Linked DNA regions of Homo sapiens: region 1 is linked to region 2. The links are contacts of gene promoters, found by promoter capture Hi-C in human tissues and cell types (Jung and others, 2019). All regions are on one chromosome and are shown on one strand. The core of a region is centred on a gene start or on the middle of the fragment in contact, and the rest is flanking DNA. Distances in the headings are between cores, read along the strand shown. Region 1 has its middle 36 kb from the start of ASIP. Region 2 holds the start of DYNLRB1 (dynein light chain roadblock-type 1).

Region 1 (5,514 bases), core at 3,011-5,510, 310 kb after region 2:
CTGTGTATCGCTCATGTGTATAATCCTAGCACTTTGAGAGGCCAAGGTGGGAGGATCACTTGAGCCCAGGAGTTTGAGTCAACCGAGGCACACAGTAAGACCCTGTCTCTTCAAAAAATAAAAAAATTAACCAGGAGTAGTGGTGCACACCTGTAATCCCAGCTACTCAGGAGGCTGAGGCAGAAGGATTAATTGGGCCCAGGAGGTAGAGGCTTCAGTGTGCCGTGATCACACCACTGCACTCCAGCCTGGGTGACAGAGGGAGACTGTGTCTCAAAAACAAAAGAAAACAAACAAAAAAATACCAATGACATTCTTCACAAAAATATTTTTAAAAGTCCTAAAATTTATATGGAACAGCAAAAGACCCAGAATAGCCAAAGCTATCCTGATCAAACAGAAAAAAGCCGTAGGCATCACATACCTGATTTCAAGTTATACTACAAAGCTATAGTAACCCAAACAGCATGGCACTAGCATAAAAACAGATACATAGACCAATGGAACAGAATAGAAAACCCGGAAACAAATCTATACATTTACAGTCAACTCTTTAATAAATGGTGCTGGAGGCCGGGTGTGGTGGCTCACACCTGTAATCTCAGCACTTTGGAAAGCCGAGGCGGGTGGATCACGAGGTCAGGAGAGCGAGACCATGGTGAAACCCGGTCTCTACTAAAAATACAAAAAATCAGCCAGGCGTGGTGGTGGGCGCCTGTAGTCCCAGCTACTCAGGAGGCTGAGGCAGGAGAATGGCATGAACCTGGAAGGCGGAGCTTGCAGTGAGCCCAGATCGTGCCACTGCACTCCAGCCTGGGCAACAGAGTGAGACTCCATCTCAAATAAATAAATAAATAAATAAATAAATAAATAAATAAATGGTGCTGGAAAAACTGGATATCCATATGAAGAAGAATTAAACTATACCCCCATTTCTCACCATATACAAAAATCAAATCAAAATGGATTAAAGACTTAAGTGTAAGAACTGAAACTATGAAACCACTAGAAGAAAACATTGTGGAAATGCTTGAGGATGTTGGTCCTGGCAAAGATTTCTTGAGTAAGACCTCAAAAGCACAAGCAACCAAAGCAAAAATGGACAAATGCGATAATATCAAGGCAAAAACCTGCACAGCAAAGGAAACAATCCATAAAGTGAAGAGATAACCTACAGAATGGGAAAATATTAATACACACTAGTCAACTGACAAGGGATTAATAACCAGAATATGTAAGGAACTCAACTCACTGGTTTAAAAAAATCCAATTTAAAAATGAACAGGCATTTCTCAAAAGAAGGCATACAAAGGGCCAACAGGCATATGAGTAAATAGTCAATATCACTAATCATCAGGGAAATACAAATCAAAACCACAGTGAGATTTCATCTCATCTCCAGTTAAAATGGCTATTATCAGAAAAGATAGAAAATATCAGCAGTAATGTTTGGGAAGAAGGAAAAGAAATTTAAAAAAATAACAAATGCTGGTAAGGATGCAGAGAAAGGGGGATGCTTGTATTCTGTTAACGGGAATATAAATTAATACAGTCACTATGGAAAACAATATAGAGATTCCTCAAAAAACTAAAAATAGAACTACCATATGATCCAGCAATCTCACTGATAGGTATATTTCCAAAAGAAAGGAATTCAGTGTATCAAAAAAATATCTGCACTCCCATGTTTATTGCAGCCCTATTCACAATAACGAAGATATGAAATCAACCTAACTGTCCATCAACAAATGAATGGATTTAAAAAACGTGGTATATGGGCCAGGCATGGTGGCTAATCCCAGCACTTTGTGAGGTCGAGGCAGGTGGATCACGAGGTCAGGAGAAGTTTGAGACCAGCCTGGCCAATGTAGTGAAATCCTGTCTTTACTAAAGATACAAAAATTAGCCAGGCGTGGTGGCTTGCACCTGTAGTCCCAGCTACTCTTGAGGCTGAGGCAAAAGAATTGCTTGAACCCAGGAGGCGGAGATTGCAGTGAGCCAAGATTGCACCACTGCACTCCAGCCTAGGTGACAGAGCGAGACTTTGTCTCAAAAAACAAAAACAAAAACAAAAACAAAAAAGTGGTATATGTATACAGTGGAATATTATTCTGCCATAAAAAAGAATGAAATTCTGTCATTTGCAACAATATAGATGGAACTGGAGGTCATCATTAAGTTAGATAAGGCAAACACAGAAAGATAAATGTCACATATTCTTACTCACGTGGAGTTAAAAAAATCGATATCAGAAAGGTAGTGAATGGAATGGTGTTTTTGAGAAGGTGGGAAGGGTAGTAGGGAGGAAGATATAAAGTAGGGTTGGTTAATGAATACAAAAATACAATTCGAGGCCGGGCGTGGTAGCTCATGCCTGCAATCCCAGACTTTGGGAGGCTGAGGCAGGCAGATCACTTGAGGCCAGGAGTTCAAGACCAGTCCGGCCAACATAGTGAAACCCCGTCTCTACTAAAAATACAAAAAAAAATTATCTTGGTATAGAGGCGGGCACCTGTAGTCCCAGCTACTTGGGAGACTGAGGCAGGAGAATTGCTTGAACCTGGGAGGCAGAGGTTGCAGTGAGGTGAGATGGTGCCACTGCACTCCAGCCTGGGTGACAGAGCAAGACTCTGTCTCAAAAATCAAAACAAAACAAAATACAATTAGAATAGAAGAAATAAGACCTTGTGAGAGGTGAAGCTGGCTGGGCTTCTGGGTTGGGTGGGGACTTGGAGAACTTTTCTGTCTAGCTAAAGGATTGTAAATGCACCAATCAGCACTCTGTGTCTAGCTAAAGGTTTGTAAATGCACCAATCAGCGCTCTGTGTCTAGCTAATTGGGTGGGGACTTGGAGAACTTTTTTGTCTAGCTAAAGTATTGTAAATGCACCAATCAACACTCTGTGTCTAGCTAAAGGATTGTAAAAGCACCAATCAGCACTCTGTAAAACGGCAAAATCAGCGCTCTGTAAAATGGAGAAATCAGCGCTCTGTAAAATAGACCAAGCGACAGGATGTGGGTGGGGCCAAATAAGGGAATAAAAGCAGGCAACCAGAGCCAGTAGCAGCAACCCGTTTGGGTCCCCTTCCACGCTGTGGAAGCTTTGTTCTTTCGCTCTTCGCAATAAATCTTGCTGCTGCTCACCCTTTGGGTCTGCACTACCTTTATAAGCTGTAACACTCACCGAGAAGGTCTGCAGCTTCACTCCTGAAGCCAGCGAGACCACGAGCCCAGCGGGAGGAATGAACAACTCCGGATGCGCCGCCTCTATGAGCTGTAACACTCACCACGAAGGTCTGCAGCTTCACTCCTGAAGCCAGTGAGACCACAAACCCATTGGGAGGAATGAACAGCTCTGGACGTGATGCCTTTAAGAGCTGTAACACTCACTGTGAAGGTCTGCAGCTTCACTCCTGAAGTCGGCAAGACCACGAACCCACCAGAAGGAAGAAACTCCGGACACATCTGAACAACTGAAGGAACAAACTCCGGACACACCATCTTTAAGAACTGTAACACTCACCGTGAGGGTCCATGGCTTCATTCTTGAAGTCAGCGAGACCAAGAACCCACCAATTCCAGGCACACTTGTACTTGGTAGCACAATAGGGTGAGTATAATTAAGTATAATTTATTGTACCTTTCAAAATAACTAGAAGAGTAGATTTGGAATGTTCCCAACACAAATAAATGATAAATGCTTGAGGTGATGGATATTCCATTATCCTGATTTGATCATTACACATTATATGCTTGTATCAAAGTATCACATGTACCACATAAATTGTACAACTATTACCTATCCATAAAAATAGAAAATAAATAAAATGAATAAAGTGTAAAAATCACAGGCTCATTTTAACTGATGAGAAAAATACATTTCATAAAATTCACCATCTGTTAATGTTTAAAAATTATATCAAACTAGAATTAGAAGAAAAATTCCTCAATCTGATAAAGAGTAACTACAAAAAGTAAACTCCAGCAACCATCATATTTAACTGAAATTATTGAGTGCTTTCTTTCTATCAGAACTAAGATAAGGATGCCTGCTATTTTCACTTTTATTCATCATTGTTCTTAAGGTTTTACCCAGTCCAATAATTCAAGAAAAAGAAGTTAAAAAACGGGCCAGGAGCAGTGGCTCACACCTGTAATCCCAGCACTTTGGGAGGCCAAAGTGGGTAGATCACCTGAGGTCAGGAGTTCAAGATCAGCCTAACCAACATGGAGAAACCCCATTTTTACTAAAAATACAAAATTAGCCAGCATGGTGGCGTGTGCCTATAATCCCAGCTACTCGGAAGGCTGAGGCAGGAGAATCGCTTTAACCCACGAGGCGGAGGTTGCGGCGAGCCAAGATTGCACCATTGCACTCCAGCCTGGACAACAAGTGCAAAACTCCGTCTCAAAAAAAAAAAAAAATTAAAAAAATAACTATCTGAAAGAAATCACTACACACACTACACATACTACATGATTGTGAATCTATAAATAAACTATAAGAATTATTAAGTTAATTAAGCAGGGTTGCTGTATGCAAGTATAAATACAAAATTTTAATTATTATGTCAATATGCCAGCATCAAACAACTAAAAATGAACATTAAAATATGCCATTTATGGCCGGGCGTGGTGGCTCACGCCTGTAATCCCAGAACTTTGAGGCCAAGGCAGGTGGATCACCTGAGGTCAGGAGTTCGAGACCAGCCTGGCCAACATGGTGAAACAACCCCATCTCTACTAAAAATACAAAATTAGCCGGGTATGGTGGCGTGTGCCTGTAATCCCAGCTACTTGGGAGGCTAAGGCAGGAAAATTGCTTGAACCTAGGAGGCAGAGGTTGCAGTGAGGCAGGATCGTGCCATTGCACTCCAGCCTGGGCAAAAAAGAGCGAAACTCCATCTCAAAAAATAAATAAATAAATAAAATTAAAATACGCCACTTATAAGGCTGGGTGCATTGGCTCATGCCTGTAATCTCAGCACTTTGGGAGGCCGAGGTGGGAGGATCACTTGAAGTTAGGCGTTCGAGACCAGCCAGGCCAACGTGGCGAAACCCTGTCTCTACAATAATGCAAAGATTAGCCACGTGTGGTGGCAGGTGCCTGTAATCCCAGCTCCTTGGGAGGCTGAGGCATGAGAATCACTTGAACCCAGGAGGCAGAGGTTGCAGTGTGCCAAAATCATGCCACTGCACTCCAGCTTGAGTGACAGAGTGAAACCGTGTCTCAAAAAATATATATATAATATACATATATATATGCCACTTATAAAATAAATAGAAAATAATTGGGAATAAATCCAATGAATAATATACCAGGTTTCTACATAGAAAACTATAAAACATCAAAAAATTTTAATAAGACTTCAACTAGTGAAGGGATATACCATATTCATGGATAAAAAAATTTAATATTGTAAAGACTTTCATATTAATTGATGGACAGATTTAATGTAATCCCAATAAAAATTCCAGCAGGGTTTTTTTTGGTAGAATTTATAAAGTTATCCT
Region 2 (5,014 bases), core at 991-3,490:
GGCAACATGGCAAAACCCCAACTCTACAAAAAAAAAATACAAAAAAATTAGCAGGGTGTGGTGGCGTGCACCAGTAGTCCCAGATACTTGGGGAATTAAGGCAGGAGGATCACTTGAGCCCAGGAGGGTCAAGTTTGCAAGAAAAAAAAAAAAAGAAACTAACAATGGTTGTTTCTAAAGGAGGAGAGACTGAGACTGGGGGTTAGGAGAGTGGGAATTTTATTTTTCACTTAGATCCTTTTACATCATTTATTTTTTTACTGTGTGCAAGTATTACCTGTAAACAATCCTAAAATTCGTATGGAACCACAAAAGACTCAGAAAAGCCAAAAGAAGCCTGGACGAAAAGAACAAAGCTTGAGGTATCACACTACCTGATTTCAAAATATACCAGAAAGGTATAGTAACCAAAAGAGCATGGTATTGGTATAAAACACAGACCAATGGAATAGAATAGAGGACCCAGAAATAAATCCACTTATTTACGGCCAACTGATTTTCGACAAAGGCATCGAAAAAACAAAACAAAACAAAAACAACAACAAAAACGAAAAAAAAAACCTACCATAAATCAGCAATACCACTACTGGGTATTTATTCAAAGGAACGGAAATTAGTACATCAAAGGCATCCCTACATCCTCATGTTCATATTGCAGCACTATTCATAATAGCTAAATTATGGAATTAGCGTCCATCAATAGGTAAATGGATAAAGAAAATGTGGGCCAGGCGTGGTGGCTCACGCCTGTAATCCCAGCACTTTGGGAGGCTGAGGCGAGCAGATCACGAGGTCAGGAGATCGAGACCACCGTGTTGAGGCGGACTAACACGGTGAAACCCCGTCTCTACTAAAAATACAAAAAATTAGCTGGGCGTGGTGGTGGGCGCCTGTAGTCCCAGCTACTCGGGAGGCTGAGGCGGGAGAATCACTTGAACCTGGGAGGCGGAGGTGGCAGTGAACTAAGATGGTGCCACTGCACTCCAGCCTGAGCGACAGAGACACACTCCATCTCAAAAAAAAAAAAAAAAAAAGAAATAATGAATGTTTAAGGTGATGGATATTCTATAATAAATATAGCCTGATTTGATCATTACACATCATATGCATGTATCAAAATATTACATGTATATCTACAACATAAATGTGTACAACTATTATATATCAATTTTTTTTACAGCTTAAGAAGTGATGTGAAAAATGAAGTTATACATATTTGAAGCATTATTACATGTTTGTAATGATGTGGAGATATTGTGGTGTAATAATGAAAAACACAGAACCCACAATTGCACATTCAATAGGGGCTAAACTGTATAAACCAAAAACAAGCAAAAAAGACTAGAAGTCATATGACTACTGTAAGTGGTTGCCTCTAGGTGATGACACGGTTTCTTTTTTCAATTTTTTTATTACAAGCTCTAGATTTCTAAATAAGATTTTTGAAAAAGTAATATATTCACATGGCTTAAAATTTGAAACTTTTTCAAATTTTGCCCAAGCTGTGAGGATTACAAACACAAAACCTGTAACGGCGTTGAGAACCCACAGCTGCAGCAAGCAAGGTAGAAAGCAAGCTTTGGGATCCCCAAGAGCAGACCCCGCCCGTTCCTGACTCTGGCACCCAGTCCCAGCGGCTAGAAAGAACCACGCCGACAGAGTGGCGGCCGTCAAGCTTCTAGGGTTCAAATCCATCTCCACTATTTCCTGGGGCAAAGCACTTGGCTTCTCGGGGCGCTGAATAACAGATATGTATAACAAAATGGGACTAAAGATTGTATCTACCTCACAGAGCTGGGAGGAGGCGGAGGAAATACAAGATACATAAAGTGCTTGGCAGAGCCTGCCACAAACTGAGCTCCCGGGAAACGTTGCCAGGGTTGCCATCGCGCACCAAGGCCCCAAAACTCTAGGCTGCAGGGCCGCCGCCCACCCCTCGCCCATCATCTCTTCCTGGCCGAGGCTGGGCTCCCGCTTCCGGTCAAGGGGCAGCGGGATCCGGCGGCCCCGCCTCGGTCAGGCTTTAGAGGCCTCCGCCGCCGGGTTCCACCCTCAAGTCGGCTGGGGCCCGGGCCCGGCCACGCCCAGCCACCACCGATTCCCTGTCCGGAGCTCTGAGATCCCCTCATCCTCGGAAGACTGAAGGCCTGGCGTGGGGTGGTGGGCGGCCGCCAGCCACAAGACCCCGGCGCACGCTCACCATTTCCGACCGATCCGGTAGCCCCGCGTAGCGAACACTTAGCGAGTCCTGTGCCTTTCTGCGCCTGCGCAAAGGTTTCTGTCAAAACGGACAGCTCTAGCTGCCTATCAGGAGCCAGCGTGAGGCGGGGGCGGGCGAGCCGATCTTGGCTCCGCCAGGATTCTTGGAAAATCTGCTTTCCACTGTGGCAAAGCGAAAAGCTAAGGAGCAGTGCGCTAAGCTGTGGAAAATTCCCAACTCCAGCCGTGCAGAAAAGATGCTGGTTCTGGCTGGACGCGGTGGCTTACGCCTGTAATTCCAGCACTTTGGGAGGCCGAGTCGGAAGGATTGCTTGAGCCCAAGAGTTCGAGACCAGCCTGGGCAACATGGAGAGACCCCTTCTCTACTAAAAAATAAACAAAATTAGCCGGGCGTGGTGGCGCGCTCGTGTAGTTCCAGTTACTCCAGAGGCTGAGGTAGGAGGATCGCCTGACCAGGAGTTCGAGGCTGCAGTGAGCCGAGATTGCGCCACTGCACCCCAGCCTGGGCGACAGAGCAAGAGACCCTGACTAAAACAAAACAAAACAAAAACCATGCTGGTTCTCGGTATCGGAAGAGGCTTTCAGTGCTGGTTCTCGGTATCGGAAGAGGCTTTCAGCTCTCAATGGAGGTCTAAGCTGGTTCTGGAGTCCCTGAGTGGAGCGTGGTGGGAGGGTATGAAGGCAAGTGGGACGGTTGCTGAGACCCGCTTTGCGCCCAGACTGAGCCAGAGAGAGGCCCAGGGCCAAAATGCGCTTCGGGATCGGGCAGGCCTGGGGTGGGGCTGGAGTCAGGTACCTCGAGTCTCCGGGTAAGATGCCGTGCAAGCTCGGAGATGAATTGGTTAGGGCTGGCCTGGGAGTCTTTAGAATCCGAGCTCAGCCCCGCCTCGCGTTACCTAGCAGAAGGCACTTCACATCTGTGTGTTCTGTCTTGTTCTCACCTCTGAAAGGGGGACTCTTCCCAGAGCCCTATGTTGTCCTGTTCCGGCAGGCCGCAAACGTTTCTGGGTCCTCTAGGAGTAAATAACTTCTGTTAAAACATGCTGCCGTTTAGTGAACCCTGTGCCACATTACTGTGCTGAACACGCACATAACGTTATCTCCGGTAGCTTCAGGGAAGTATCGGTAACCTCGATACTTTATAAATGCTGTTTCTCCCAGGCACTGTAGCTTGCTGGATTCAACGATGATCTAACTCCAAAGTTTCATTCCACAGTAGCTGCTCTTCAGTGAGGAAGGATTTGGTTCTCCTTCCAGGAGTGTCTGCATGTTAAGAGGATTGACTTTACTGCGAAGAAACCTAGCAGACACCACCGTAACCAGATCAAAGTTAGTATTACTGGCAAGGGGAGATATTGATGCCGTGTGCCCCGATAAAAATGCGTTAAGGGCACATCACCTCCGAGTCATTTTCCACAAAAACTCCCAGCCTTAAACCATGAGAAAATTTCACTAAATCCAGTGTGAGGGATGTTCTACAAGATACCTGTACCCCGCCCCCGCCCCCCAAAATCTCAAAGTCATGAAAGCAAGGAATGAATGCGGAACTGTCACAGATTAGAGGAGTAAGGAGAAAGAAAAATAACATGGGTGGGAAAATTGGTGAAATCTGAGTAAGGGCTGTAGTTTAGTGTTATTTTTACCAGTGTTAATTTATTAGTTTTGGTAATTCTAGCATGGTTATATGGGATCATAACATTGGAGAAAGCTGGGTGAAGACTGTGCAGGAACTCTTAACCATTTTTGCAACAGCTCTGTAAATGTAAAATTATTTCAAAATAAATTTTTAAAAGGACTGGATCCAAAGGAATTTCTATTGAATGCTGGAAACATTAGGAAAGCATTTAGCAAGGGGAAGAAGTGCTGCAGAGACTGGACCCTAAAACATCCTGGAAGATAAGCACTGGAAGAATCACCACTGTCTTGCCCATGGAGAACCAGACTGAGAGGAGTGAAAGGATTTTAACAGATTACAATCCCAGAAGCAAAAAAGAGAATGGCCAATAGTTCATGTGACAGGAGCCAAAATGAGAATGAAGGAGGAGCTGGAATAGGACCAAGAATGTCCCGGAGTGGCAGGCTTAGAGTTTTGGCCCGGCGCAGTGGCTCACACCTGTAATCTCAGCACTTTGGGAGGCCAAGGTGGGCGGATCACGAGGTCAGGAGTTCGAGACCAGTCTGGCCAACATAGTGAAAGCCCCTCTACTAAAAATACACAAAAAATTAGCCGGGGGTGGTGGTGTGCGCCTGTAACCCCAGCTATTCGGGAGGCTGAGGCAGGAGAATCGCGTGAACCCAGGAGGCGGCGGTTGCAGTGAGCCAAGATCGCCCCACTGCACTCCAGCCTGGGCGACAGAACAAGACTCCGTCTCAAAAAAAAGAAAAAAAAGTTTTATTCTGCGGTAATGGAGAAACCACTGTAAAATTTTAGGTAGAGGAGGCATGAGACAGGTCTTCCACAGATAATCCTGAGGTAGTACAGAAGATATACTGGAGCGAGGAGGATGGAAAAATGAAGACAGGATGCTGTTATGGTCAGCCAGATTAGGGAGGAAGCACGTGGGCTGTGGCAATGTTGTCAGCTCTGAGAGAACGGATTTTTAAAAGTTTTGGGGCCAGGCGCGGTGGCTCATGCCTGTAATCCAAACACTTGGGAGGCCAAGGCGGGCGGATCACCTGAGGTCAGGAGTTCGAGACCAGCCTGGCCAACGTGGGGAAACCCCGTCTCTACTAAAAATACAAAAATTAGCCGTGCATTGGTGATGGGCACCTGTAATCCCAGCTACTAGGGAGG

The links. The method cuts DNA at HindIII sites, captures the fragments that hold promoters and counts their contacts. A contact is called where the count stands out against the background at its distance.
Region 1: a fragment that was not itself captured here is called in contact with the fragment with the promoter of DYNLRB1 in region 2 in 2 of the 25 tissues and cell types used here (IMR-90 fibroblasts and heart left ventricle).

Annotation. Positions count from the first base shown.
Region 1 is chr20:34,203,134-34,208,647 of GRCh38, reverse strand. It overlaps a transcript of ASIP not described here. Among named protein-coding and RNA genes, the nearest start is that of ASIP, 36 kb to the left of the region's middle. The HindIII fragment of the contact is 6,854 bases long and covers 834-5,514 here.
Region 2 is chr20:34,513,648-34,518,661 of GRCh38, reverse strand. It overlaps DYNLRB1 (dynein light chain roadblock-type 1), which reads right to left and starts at 2,240. Exons shown (of 4, transcript NM_014183.4): 1 at 2,201-2,240. The coding sequence starts at 2,203. RefSeq lists enhancers at 1,709-1,888, 1,555-2,420, 2,809-3,048, 3,159-3,218 and a silencer at 2,239-2,348. The HindIII fragment of the contact is 11,693 bases long and covers 968-5,014 here.